Regions from separate parts of the Homo sapiens genome. Here region 1 is linked to region 2. Evidence: promoter capture Hi-C in 16 types of primary human blood cells and fetal thymus (Javierre and others, 2016). All regions are on one chromosome and are shown on one strand. The core of a region is centred on a gene start or on the middle of the fragment in contact, and the rest is flanking DNA. Distances in the headings are between cores, read along the strand shown. Region 1 holds the start of IQSEC3-AS3 (IQSEC3 antisense RNA 3). Region 2 overlaps IQSEC3 (IQ motif and Sec7 domain ArfGEF 3).

Evidence for each region. The method cuts DNA at HindIII sites, captures the fragments that hold promoters and counts their contacts. A CHiCAGO score of 5 or more calls a contact.
Region 1: a contact is called between the fragment with the promoter of IQSEC3-AS3 here and a fragment that was not itself captured in region 2, in 4 of 17 cell types (M1 macrophages, megakaryocytes, M0 macrophages and 1 more). The highest score is 9.2, in M1 macrophages.

Annotation. Positions count from the first base shown.
Region 1 is chr12:146,821-153,256 of GRCh38, forward strand. IQSEC3-AS3 (IQSEC3 antisense RNA 3) reads right to left here and starts at 2,349. Exons shown (of 10, transcript NR_033859.2): 1 at 2,259-2,349. All of the region lies in intron 5 of IQSEC3 (IQ motif and Sec7 domain ArfGEF 3), which reads left to right. RefSeq lists an enhancer at 6,216-6,436. The HindIII fragment of the contact is 4,344 bases long and covers 1,426-5,769 here.
Region 2 is chr12:77,979-84,419 of GRCh38, forward strand. The region is part of intron 1 of IQSEC3 (IQ motif and Sec7 domain ArfGEF 3); the gene reads left to right. Among named protein-coding and RNA genes, the nearest start is that of IQSEC3, 14 kb to the left of the region's middle. The HindIII fragment of the contact is 152 bases long and covers 2,550-2,701 here.

The DNA.
Region 1 (6,436 bases), core at 1,099-3,598, 69 kb after region 2:
ACACTGCCAGCACCAGAAGGCTGGAAGGAGAACATCTTCAAAAGTGGTGTCTTTGGGGTTATGGCCTTGACCCTTCACCTCTCCACTCTCTCCTGCCCCACTCCCACCACAGATAGACAAGGGATTCTCCTGAACAGTCAACAGTTGTGAGAGTTTAAGACCTACTTACTTCTGTAGCTGGAGACCTTGGGACCTTCAGTCCAGGATTGAGACTCCCTTTGGCTTCGTCACTTTGGCATATAAATTGGACTTTTATATAAAAATGGACCTACCTGCCACCCAGTCCTCCCCTGACTACTCAGGCCTTTGCTCTGGAGGAGTCAGTCTCCTCTGTGTGATAGCTGTGGCTGCAACAGGCCACTCGGACGTGGGCCTTCTAGAAGGGTCTTCCGGGGTGTCACTGTCTCCAGGGCAGGGCTGTCATATCTCCAGGAGGGCCGTTTGTGACCAAGCAGGCCGTGAAATATTATGCCAGCTCACACAGATCAGCATGTGCTGTGTGCCACAGGTGCTGTTCTGAGAGGCTTACATGCAAAACCTCGTTCCATCTTCACAGCGACTCCGGGAGGGACGTGCTGCTAATCTGTACCCAATGAAGGCACTGAGGAACAGAGAGGTTGGGGAGCTTGCCCACAGTCACAGAGCTGATCAGTGGCTGAGGTCTGAAGCCAGGCACAATGACTCATCACCTGAGCCCTTAACCCTGCACCATCCAGCCTCCGTGCGTCATTCCAGGACCCCTGTGGTCCGGTTGCTCTCACAGTCCTTGTCAGTCCCCCATCATGAATCATGACACTGAAGACCCCTTAGACAATCAGCTGGTCCAGCCCTCTCATTTTACCCTGGCAGAAACTGAGGCCCTGGGGAAAAGAAATGACTAGTCTCCTGGCCAGCGGCAGAGAAATTGAACAAAATCAGGTACTCTCCCACCTCTTACCTTGGCGTTATTTGCTATGCCCCGATCCTCTCAATTTGGGAAGAAAGCACAGCTGAGAAACTGATTCGTAAGTCTCAAGAGGTCTGAGCCAGATTTAGCTTCCTCTCTCTGGTGCATGTATATCTTAAAGGGCCGACGGATGGCTGTCTAATGATACAATTCCAGGCAGAATTAGTCGGTGGGGCAGGGAGGGGTCCTGTCCACTGACAGGCGGGTCAGCCCACACCTAATGAAAATGATCATGTATTAAGCCCTGTTGTATACCAGGAACTTCACACCCACTGCCTCCTTTAACACTCATAACACCCCTGCCCAGTAGATGTTCTCAGTGTTGTCTCCATTCTCAAGGTGAGGAAATGAGCCACCAAGAGGCTCCATGACTTGAAGTAACAGCTCCACGGCCTTTTCTTAATCCACCCACTGTTATTGGCATAGAGCAGTGCTTCCAAAAGGTGGTCCCTGGACCAGCAGCGTCAGCTTCACCTGGAAGCTTGTTAGCAATGCAAACTCTCAGTTCCCGCTCCAGGCCCACTGAATCAGACTCTGCGGCTCGGGGCCCAGCAATCCGTGCACTAATAAACCCGCCACGCAATTCCAATGCATCACTCAGTTTGAGACCCACCAGCAAACAGGGATGCTGCCGAGCCCAGCAAAAGAAAAATCAGCTCAGGGCTTCTAAATTGTAAGGGTAGTTTGAACTTAGTTCTTTGGGTACCTGAGTCTCAAGGTGTGAGTGGCAGCCAGCCCTACCCAGGCCCCCTCAAAAGAGAGTTTCTTCGTCCTCATGACATCACCAGGAACACTGGCAGATCCTGCATCAGCTTCCTTCTCTTCTATTTTCTTAGCCGCATCGCACTTTGCCAAAACGCCTTGACCTTTGTTGAGCATGTTATGAATTCTGACGAATAAAATAACTCTCTGGAGGATGGGGATATTTTTAATTGAATTGTAGAAGCCAACAACTGCCAAATAAAGCCAGGGTTTCTACATTCCGTGGCAATAGGTGGTTTAGATTTCCTTCCTAATCCTGAAACCTGGGCTTAGTCTCAGCCAGGAGCACGAGCTAGGGCTTCACCTTCCAGATCTTCGCCGTCTCTTCCAGCCAATTAAAAATCCCTGCTGCTACCATTACCTATTTTCAGCTCCCAACCAGTTCCTTTGTCTGCCAGACACTGTCTTGCTATCATTAAAAAAAAAAAAGAAGGTTGAGATGATGAAATTCATTTTGATCACAGGCGTGTAGGACGCTTCATTTCCCTGCAACACAAACTGATTCCACGCACAGATCAATGTTAACAAGCAATTTTATGCAAGATTGTACCTGTTTCTTCAGAGGCAGGGAACATACATCCTTTTTCCCCAACGCTTGTGAGGTATTTGCTGCAGACCTTGCAGAAGCTCACAGGAAAGAGGGGGAGGCCTTAGCAAAACCGGTACCACTCGTGATCCACGCGCCCGTCAGCAGCACCTCCTGAGACAGGTCCGGTCATGCCTGGCTGGAAGCGGTCTAATCGGTGCCCATTGCTCTAGTTCTCAGCACTCACTCACTTGCATGTGCAGTGGGAGGAAGGGGGCCTATGCCCTCCACACTGCCTCACTGCCTGGAGTCTGGAAGCCTCGGGGCCATTTGCAAGTCCATCACAGGTCTCGGTGTCAGCTCCAGATAATCTTGGCAGCAAAGCAGGCTGAGTAATCCTGGGCCGTTGGGTAGAACTTCCAAAGGCACAGGCCACTGAGGCTCCTTCTCCAGCTGCCGGCATGCAGTCATTCCTGGTCATCTCTCACTCACTCATTCATTCATCCCACAAAACAGTGATTGGGTGCCCATACACCAGGGAGGCAGAGATTAAAATAACTGCCCTATCTTGAAGGAGCCCGTAGCCTCGTGGGGAAGACAGGCAGGCAAATGTTATGACACAGGGAGATAAACGCAATGGTCGACAGAAGGTGGGTTCCGGGGACAACGGAGGTCAGGGAAGACTCCTAGAGAGGATGAGAGCTAAACAGAGACCTGCAGGGTTGGGGCTGGGCAGCAGGAAGAAATAACAGCATGCACCAAAGTGGGGGCGTGAGAGCCAGGCTGCAGGGGGGGACCATGCTGGGGAAGCGGCGAGAGAAGCTGGAAGCAGACAGGGCGTCTTTGCTTTGCTGAGAAACTTGGGTTTCACACTAGGGATGTGGGGAGCCCTGGGAGAAATGTGAGCAGGGACATGAGCTATGATGCCAAGTTAGCAGCCTAGAAGGATGGCTCTGAAGATGGTTTGGAGGCAGGGAGACTGGTGAGAAGGCTACTGCTGTTAACAGCCATGATGAGAAAGGATGAAGCCCTAAACTGCGGCTGTGGGCATGGGGAGGGGAGAAGTTGGCAGAGCCCAGGGCCGTGGAGAAGCAGCAGGGCCATGGCCCACGTGGGAGGGAGCCAGGCAGCCAGCGCACAGCCAGTGGTCTCCGAGCTGATGAGAATTCAGAATACGCGTGTGCTTCAGGCCCCCTGTGTTGGTACTCCATCTACCAAATAAACACGTACAGATTTTCCATTTCAGAGGCAGGGAGATGCTGGATTCAGGGACATTTCATCTGAAGAATCTATCAAACTAGACATTGTCAAATATTTACTCAAGCAAGTTAGACTGTTAGCTAGCTAGAGCCACTGGAATGGGGGCAGCCACTAGCATGGGGGCAGCCACCTGGACAGTGGTTGTTGAGAGGGGGATAGGGCCCAGTTTCAGGTCAGTGAGGAGGGGCAGCTGCAATGGATGAGGGGCTCCTCCAGAGGAAAGAGTCCACCTGGGGAGGGAGGGTGATGGAAGCCAAGAAGACGGTGTTTCCAGAAGGGAGCAATTAACCATGTCGATGCTGCCAAGGGGCTGGGATGAGGACAGAGATAGGCCGTTGGATTTGGCCACATAGCAACCAGCAATGGCCGTGACAAGAGAAGTGTTAATGGTGCCTGGGGTTGGATGCTTGAGTGGAGCAGGTTGAAGAGTGAATGGAGAAGAGGAAGTGGAGGCAGCAAAGAGGAGAGAAGAGAGGCAGTGTCTAGAGAGCAACGAGGGCTCAAGGCAGGGTTCTGATTTGTAAGATGAAAAAGACAAGCACTTGGGTGCTCCTGAGGATGATTCAGTAGAGGGGAGGCGTGGTAGCTATCTGAAAGAACACCTCAAACTTCGTGTGCCCCAAGATGGAGACTCCGTCTCTCCAGCATGTGTCTGCACCATGATACACTCACACTAGAGAACGGTACCTCCAGGCCCCTGGGTGCTCCTGAGATGATTCAGTAGAGGGGAGGCACGGTAGCTATCTGAAAGAACACCTCAAACTTCGTGTGCCCCAAGATGGAGACTCCGTCTCTCCTCCAGCGTGTGTCTGCACCATGATACACTCACACTAGAGAATGGTACCTCCAGGCCCCTGGGTTCTCCTGAGATGATTCAGTAGAGGGGAGGCACGGTAGCTATCTGAAAGAACACCTCAGACTTCGTGTGCCCCAAGATGGAGACTCCGTCTCTCCTCCAGCGTGTGTCTGCACCATGATACACTCACACTAGAGAACGGTACCTCCAGGCCCCTGGGTGCTCCAGCCAGAGCTCCAGGATGCACCAGTGATGCCTCCCTTTCCTCACTTCCCACATTCCCTGCACCTCGAGTCCCATCTGTTCTTCCTCTAAGATGCAGCTGGATCATTCATTCAGTTTGTTTCCACTGCTCCTGCCTTAGCCCAAGCCCCATTATCTGTAGCTTGGACCTCTGCAGTAGCATCCTAACTGGGCCCCTGCTTCTGTCTTCTTCCCTGCCCCTCTGCCATTCATTTTCTCTCCAACAGCCAGGGAAATCTTCTTAGAACAAACAGGACCCTGTCGCTCCTCTGATCATACCCTCTATTGTGTCCCAGTGCATTCAGGATAAACTCCCAAATCCTTCTCATGACCCACAAAGCTGACAGACTGAGCCCTGGCTGCTGCCCCACAGTCACCATTCTCCCTGTTACTGTCTGCACTGCAACCTTGCGGACCCTGCCTAGGTCCTTGAAGCTCCTCCCTGCCGTGAGCCTTTGCATATGCTTCCTCCCTTAGCCCACCTGACAGCTCTCCCCTCTCTCCTTCCTTTGGCCACCTCCTACTCATCTTTCAGGCCTCAGCTCAAATGCCATGTCCCCAAAGAGTCCTTTCCAGACATACAATATAAAATATATCTCCTTTGTCCTCTCCTGGAACCGTCGTTTCCCTACATAGAACTCATCATGACTATAGGTAAAGAATTATTTTTGACTCTGTGTTCAATGCCTGTCTCTCCCACCAAGACAGAGACTGTGTTGCTGGCCACTTACACCAGGTCCCGAGCACAGCCTTGCACACGGGGCCACTCAGTGCTCGTTGCTGAAAGAGTCAACCAGCCACTGCCACAGGGCACAAAAAGCACCAGAAAGGGGAAGGCAGGAGGTCAGCGATATGGACCCTGCTGTGGGCTCCAGGTGCCCAGGCCAGCTCTGAACCTGCAGGGTGACCACAGAGCCCCCGTGCTGACTGCCCACGCATGCACCAAGAGGCTCTCCTGTGTAACTGTGTCCACGGGCTTCTCCTTGGCCTCTCACAGGTCCCCACCAAGCCATCTGGGTAAGATCACAGCCCCTAGGAAGACATGCATTAGTGCCAGCCACTGAGCAGCAGAGAGCCAGGGAGAGGTGAGGGAGAGGAGGGCACAGGGGACCACCTGCCCCAGGAGATGTCAGCAAGGAATGAGATGTGTGCAGCACGCCTGTAGGGCTGGCTGTCTAGTGTACTTCAGTCTCATATGTAATAAAAACATAATGGTACAATGGTTCATATTGCACAAGCTTGAGAAGATGAGGTCATTGCACACATAGTGAAGCACTTAGAGCCATACTCAGTACAGAGAGCTCAGAGGGAACTCCCCCGACTTGAGTAAGGGACCTCCCTGCCACCCCACACACACACAGGAGTGAAGAGAAGAGAGCCCAGTGGGGCAGGGAGAGGCCTCACAAGATTAGGAAGCTGAAAGCCTGCTCTCCCTAGCTGTGGGAGCATGGGGCCAGCCCTACGTGGCATTAGTTTTGTCTTCTGTAAAATGGGGAGATGATACACCAGAAAAGACCACCCGGGAATGTGTGGTGCTCTTTACCTTAAAGATGACCAATGAGGAGAGATGACTCCAGGCCACCCTGGGTGGAGGCTGCAGCATGGATTTGGTAAACTGCCCACACTCAGCTCCCCAAGAGGATTCCAGGGCAGCAAAGAAGGCTGGAAAGTGGGAATTAGGAGTGCTGGTAGACACTGCAAAATAAGAGAAGCAGCAGGACAGAGAGTGAGAGAAGGGGAGGGAGCAAAAGAGGGCACGGTGCAAGCAGAAGCTTATGCTCAGGGAGTGAACAGAGGAGGCTCATGCTGTAGAGGGCCGAGGCTTATAGGTGCTTCCAGGGGGACACGGACCCTGGAATGAGCAGGGCTTATGGTAGACAGCACAGTCCCACCCCCAGCCACC
Region 2 (6,441 bases), core at 1,376-3,875:
TCCTCGCGGGGGCGGCGGCGAGGACCTGCACCCCGGCGCGGGGAAGCCGCGTGCCCACAGCCTCCGCGCGCCCCCGCCGCCCCGCTGAGGAAGGCGGCTGCTGAGTCACCCGCGAAGGGAAGCGCGGCCCGGGCGCCCCCGCCTCCCCGCGCCCCAACCCCCGCGCACAGCCGCCCGCCCACGGTGTCTGGGGCCTCCCGGCGCAGGGCGCCGCCTCCTCCCGCGTTCCCGGCCCGAGGGGGCTCGGAAGGGGCTTCGGCGCTGCGGCACCGCCCGCCGCCAGCCCGGGGAGCATCGGGGCCGCGGCCTTCGGGCCGGGTGCTGGGTGCTGGGTGCGCGCCCCTCCTCGGCCTCCACGGGCCGCAGCCGGGGCTAGTGTGATGGTGCGAGTAGATTGCCTTGGAGAAGAAGGGGACATTGAGGCGGGGGCGGCTAGGAGGGGTCGGGGATGAGGACGGTGACACCGAGGTACAAATTCTACTCAGCATCCACCTTTCCTGTCTTCCTTGTACCCAAGACACCTCAGCAAAAAAAAAAAATAAATTTAAAACTCCCAGCCTTATCTTGGCCTTCTCATGTTTATGTTTGTGTTTTATCGCATCACAGTCTTAGAATTCCCAGGGCTGTAGGTCTCCTCAGCCTACGGTGCGGCATAATAGTTCTGAGCAGGGCCCTGGGTTTGAATCTCGACTCAGTCGTTCACTAGCTGTGTGATCTCAAGCAATGAGAGCCTCGCGTTTCCCGTTCGTAAAATAAGGAATACGAATGGTACCACCCTCCTGGGATTGCTGGGAAAATTCAGGGGTGATGCCAGTAAAGCGTCAGGCAAGCCGAGTGCCTGGCACGCAGTGAGGGCTCGACGCGGGGTGGTTGCTGTCACTTTGGGACCCTTCCAGTGGCAGAAGGTGCTCTTTGAAGGTGAGAGGCCTCACCACCCCCCACCCTGACCCCGGCATCTTCTAAGGGGCTCTGAACAGGACTCCTTCCCTGTTTGACTTCACACCCTTTCAAATATTTGAAGGCAGATAGCCATCCTTCCCTTCCCTTGCCTTCCAGTCCACTGACACCCCTCCGCCATCTACTTTCAGGAGAACATACCTGATCCTGGCACTTCCTGCTCCTCATGGTTCTGCGGGTGGCCCTGCCTCACCTGGGTTACTGCTCTCCGAGAACACAGAGGGAGCTGGGAGTGAGCCCTGCAGCGCAGGGGCTGTGGCCAGACCAGCTTTGGGCACAGGGAGGCCCTCCCTCACCCCCCGCCTAGCTTTGGATGGTGGCTAGGGACCCACTGGCTTTCTCAGCCCCAGCCACAGATGGGACCTATCACACATGAGGTCAGCTAAAGCCTCAGGGCTCTTTCACTTGAAGGACTCTGGCTTCTGGCCACCTGTACTTGTACAGGTGGCTTTTAACATACACACAAAATTGCTAATGTAATTTGCTTTTAATGTAATTCACCTTTTCCTTTCTTTAAGAGATGGTGACTCTGTCACCCAGGCTGGAGTACAGTGGCACAATCATTGCTCTCTGCAGCCTCGAACTCCTGCGCTCAAGTGATCCTCCCACCTCAGCCTCCCAGGTAGCTAGGACTACAGGCATGCATCACGACACCTGACTAATTTTCTTTGTTTTTGTAGAGACGGAGGCCTCCCTATGTTGCCCAGGCTGGTCTCGAACTCCTGGCCTCAAGCAATCTTCCCAATTCAGCCTCCAGAGTAGCTTGATTTACTCTTTTCAAATAGACAATACATTGACCTAGTACAAGATTCAAAAGAAAAGAGTTTACAGTGAAAAGCATCGCCCCCATCCTTGTTTCCTAACCACTCGAATTCCTGCCCGCCCCCACACCTTCCAGCAACCACTATTATTTCTCACGTCTTTCCAGCTATATGTACATTTAAGCAAAATGTTTATTTCTTTTTACAGAGATACTAGTATCCTATATGCTGTTCTGCACCTTGAGTTTTGTTCCCTAATAATGTATCTTAGTGATCTTTCCTTATTAAATATAAAAAGAGCTGCCGCGTTCTTTTTTAATAGCCGCAAAATATTCCACTGTATGGCTGTGAAGCTAGGTCCTTTCTGCTGTCTGCTGAGAGTTTTGGAAGGCAAGTAATTATTTAAGGTGGGCTTTCTGAGGGCCAGAGAGGGGAGGAAGCAGGTATGATTGAGCAGCTGCATTTGAACTTGCCTCTCTGGCTGACGTGCTGCTGCAGCCTCCTGCAGACATGGGTCAGTTGCAGCAGAAATACGATTCGGCAAGTGCTTCTCCGTCTGAAAACTCCAGCTTGGTTCACTTTTGCTCCCCGGGGCTCCCTTTGTTGTCAGCAGTTATCAAGTTTGGGGGAGCCATCAGGGTGTTAGCATCTGGCTCTAAACCAGCTGAAGGTGAGTCCTACAACCCCAGCAGTTTCAGGAAGCCTTCCTGAACCGATCTGATAAATAAATAGATGTTCTTATAGCCTCACTCCTTACTTTTCACCCCAGGCTGAGCACACACCAGTCCTTGCTAAGAACAAAATTAGTTCTTTATTCTTGTGGCTTAGAAAAGCTTGTTTTCTTCTTTCTGTAAGTATATATTTTCCTGGCATCTGTATTCTTCCTTTCACTTAACAAATATTTATTATCTGCTGTGTGCCAGTTACTATTCTAGGCCCTGGGGTATAGCAGTGAACAAAAAAACTCCCAAATTCCTTTATGAAGCTTACAGACAAACAAGATCACTAATGAAAACTTATAGTGCATCTGATGGGATAAGAGCCCTGGAGAAAAAGCAGAGAAGAGACCCGGAATAAAGGAATCTGCACTTTCAAACTGGGTGCCCTGGGGAGACAGCACCTGAGCAAAGTCCTGGAGGAGGGGAGGGAGGGAGTTCTGTGGCTGTCTGGGGACGGGCATTCCTGGCAGGACAAACAGCTAGCATAGAGGCCAAGGGTGGGACCCTGCCAGGTTGTTCAAGTAAGACAAGGGCCGAGAGCACAGGGAGAGGCGCCTGAGGCCAAGTCAGAGAGATTGTTGGGGCATGGGAGGGTAGGAGGGTGCAGGCGCGTAGCAGATCTTGTAAGAGATTCTCAACTGGGATTTCCAGGTCCACCAGGGAGCATTTGGAATGTGTGGGCACATTTTAGTTGTCACAAATGCTGATGGGGCTTGGATGAGGAAGGTTGTTGTTCTGTGGCATGCAGTGGGTAAGGGCCATGTCAAACATCCTGCAGTGTGTGGGACAGACCACACAGTGAAGAATTTTCCTGCCAGAAATGCCCCTGTTTCTTGTTGTTGAGGGCATTGGAGTCCGTTAGGAAGTGTTTGGCTTTTACCTTCAGAAAAACTAGGAACCAGTGGATGACTTTGAGCAGAGGGTGCTTAAAAGGAACTTTGGATGCTGGTTTGAGAATAGACTGAAGAGGGAAGAAAGGCAGAAGCAGGGAGTTCAGGTAGAAGGTTGTTACACAGCCCAGGTAAGAGATGCTAGTAGCTTGGACCAGGGTAGTAGCAATGAAAGTATGATCTGCAGCCAAGACAACAGTACTTCCTGAGGGATCAGTGTGGGATGTGAGACAAAGAGGAGTTGAGGATGAGCTCAAGGTTTGGGGCCAAAGTTATTAGAAGGATGGGATGGAGAAGTCCATGGGGGATGAGGAGGTTTGAGCATTTGACGGATGGCGTTTGAGACAGCTCTTAGATGTTTGAGAGGAGATGTGCAGTAGGCATTTGGAATGGGCTGGAGGTATAACTTTGGGATGCTTTTAAAGCCTTGAGACTGGGCCACGCCACCAAGGAGTGAGAACAGAAGATGAAAGAGGCCTAGGGCAGATTTGCAATGCACACAACACTAAAAGGTGGGCATGGGAGCTGAGAAGGAGCACCCAGAGGGAGGAGAACAGCCAGGAGAAGCACCTAGTGTTCTGGCAAAGAGCGTTTCAAAGGCTGCTGAAACGTGGAGGATGCAGACTGAGAACTGTCCATTAGCTTTAGCAACATTCAGGTAATTGGTGACCTTGAAAAGCATAGTCTTGGGAGTGGATTTGGAGGCTTGATTAGTGGGTTTGAGAGAGAAGGGAGGAGAGACTTTAGAGACAAATCAACCAAATAGAACATGTGGACCTTTGATCCGGCTTGATTTAGACAAAGCCATTGGAACTAGACATTTTTAAGACAGTCGGGGAATTTGAACGTAGATGAAGTATTAGGTGATGTTAGAAAATTGTTAATTTAGTTAGGTATGATTATGGTACTCATATCTTTTTAAAGTTCTTACCTATTAGAGGGATACATTGTGGGTGAAATGATATTTCTGGGGCTTGCTTTATAACACTGTAGCAAAAAAGTTGGGAAGTAGAAGACTGGCAAAATATATGTTTGACATTTCCCTAATAAAATGTGTAAAAGATGCCAGAATGGGAGGAATTGTAGAAAGTTCTGATGAGTTTTGCTATAAAGAGAAGCAAAGAAATGGGGTGACCGCTGAAGGGACGAAGCGGGTTCAAGACAAAGGATTGTTCTTTAAGATGGGAGAAGTCATAGCATGTTTGTTTCAGCAGCATGTCAGCTAACTACACATGCTGACCGTCCACCGCAGCAAAGGCCCTGTCCTAACTCCTGTAGGGAAACTGAGAATGACTACATCACTCCTGGAGGAAAGTCATCATTTAATGAAAGCTGACATTGACCATGCACTTACTATGAGTGAGGCACGGTGTTAAGCACTTTACAAACTTTCTCTCGATGTGTCCTAATAACACCTTCCCGAGCTAGGCTCCATTCTGTATTCCAAGCAACGTGAGGTTGCTTGTGCAGATTCACACTCAGCCAGTGTGACCCTGGCAGGCAGTGCTCCTAGCCTCTACTCTCCATGGCCACCCCGCAGACAACTACAGTAACATGCATCCAAATCTCCAGGAGAAGTTTTTTCCAAATCCACGTGGCCCAGCCTCAGCACTGGAGACTGTTGTTCAGCAGGGGATAGGGGAAAGAAGACAGCCACAAATGCTTGCAGTGAGGCTCTCAGGAGGTTCTGACGCAGTTCCCTGCTGGAAAACCATCAGGATATATCAGCCTGGGCACACTCACTTATCGTCGCATACACCAGGGTTCACACCGGTGCTGTGGGTAATTAGGCTGGCTGAGGCTAGGGAAAAAATTAAAATGTGATGAGCTGGGCTGTACAGGAGAAAGGAGAGGAGGGCAGCTGAGCGTGGCATTGTCATTTAGGGATGGGAAATTCTGTTTAGGTTCCTCAAGGGCCAGAATCATATGTATACATTCATTTCACAAGTATTTGTTGAGCACCTACGGCATGTCAGGGGCACAGGGATTCGCGGTGAACAAGTCGAACAAAGCCCCTGCCGTCATGGAGCTCCCATTCCAGAGGAGAAGGCAGATATTTAACAAGAAAATTCACACACGTATAACAGAAATTCCCAAGGACTAGAAGAAAAGTACGGGGGTGGCTAGGGGGAGGATAGCTCTGAAGAGAAGTCCTCACTTAGGGGGTGGCATCTGAGCAGAGAGATGAAATAAAACAGAGCACGTGAAGACCTCAGGGGAAAGCGTTCCGTGTAAAGGCCCTGGGGCTGAAGGAAAGGCATGTGTTCAAAGAACAGAAGAAGGGAAGGGGGGCCAGAGGGGAGCAAGAGAGGGAGGAAAGAGACAGGGAGAGGAGATGGCATCACAGTGGGCCTTCTGAGGGAGTTTGTGGGGAGAGAGGTTGATGGGAAGGCGGGCGGGGGAGGAGGTGGGTTGAGAAGTGGAATGATGTGATCCACACTAGAAAACAGAGCTTAGGGGTTCAAAGGCAGAGAAGGGAGAGCAGTTCAGCAGGGAGCCCCGGAGCGCCGTGCACCCTTGTTTGGTGTCCACTCATTTATCCAACCTTCCTTTCAACCTCCACTTACTTGATTTCTGCTGTGTGCTCGACATTGCTGTGCATTTGTTATCTCATTTATCCACATGGTACTGACGGGAAGATATTACAGTCCCTACTTCACAGAGGCAAACTGAGGCTCAAAGAGGTTAAGGTGATCCACCCAGGGTCACACAGCTAAAGTGACATCTTCAGGATTCGTGTGTGAGCCTCTTACACCCTGGCATAGCTGTCCTCACTGTAAGAGGAGTCCCCTGTGGTGTGGGAAGTGCTTCCCCCAGGCAAAGCCTAATCTGGGACAGAGACCATTGTTCAGGAACAGAAAGGCTGGTGGCATCGTGCCCATATGACAGTTGTTCACGTTGCTGCAGCTCTGAATTTGGCCCGTGGCCCACTCATCTCAGTGCCCAGCCTGGCAGGACTGGGCTTGATGACTGGCAGAGTACCACCCACATGCAGCCACAAGATGAATGGTTTACAGGTCCCCATGGGACATCACATCCCTGCGTGGCCCATATGGTCAGGAGGGTTCACATAGTGGACAAAACATCCTTGTTCTCAGCTCTGCATGTGTGCGT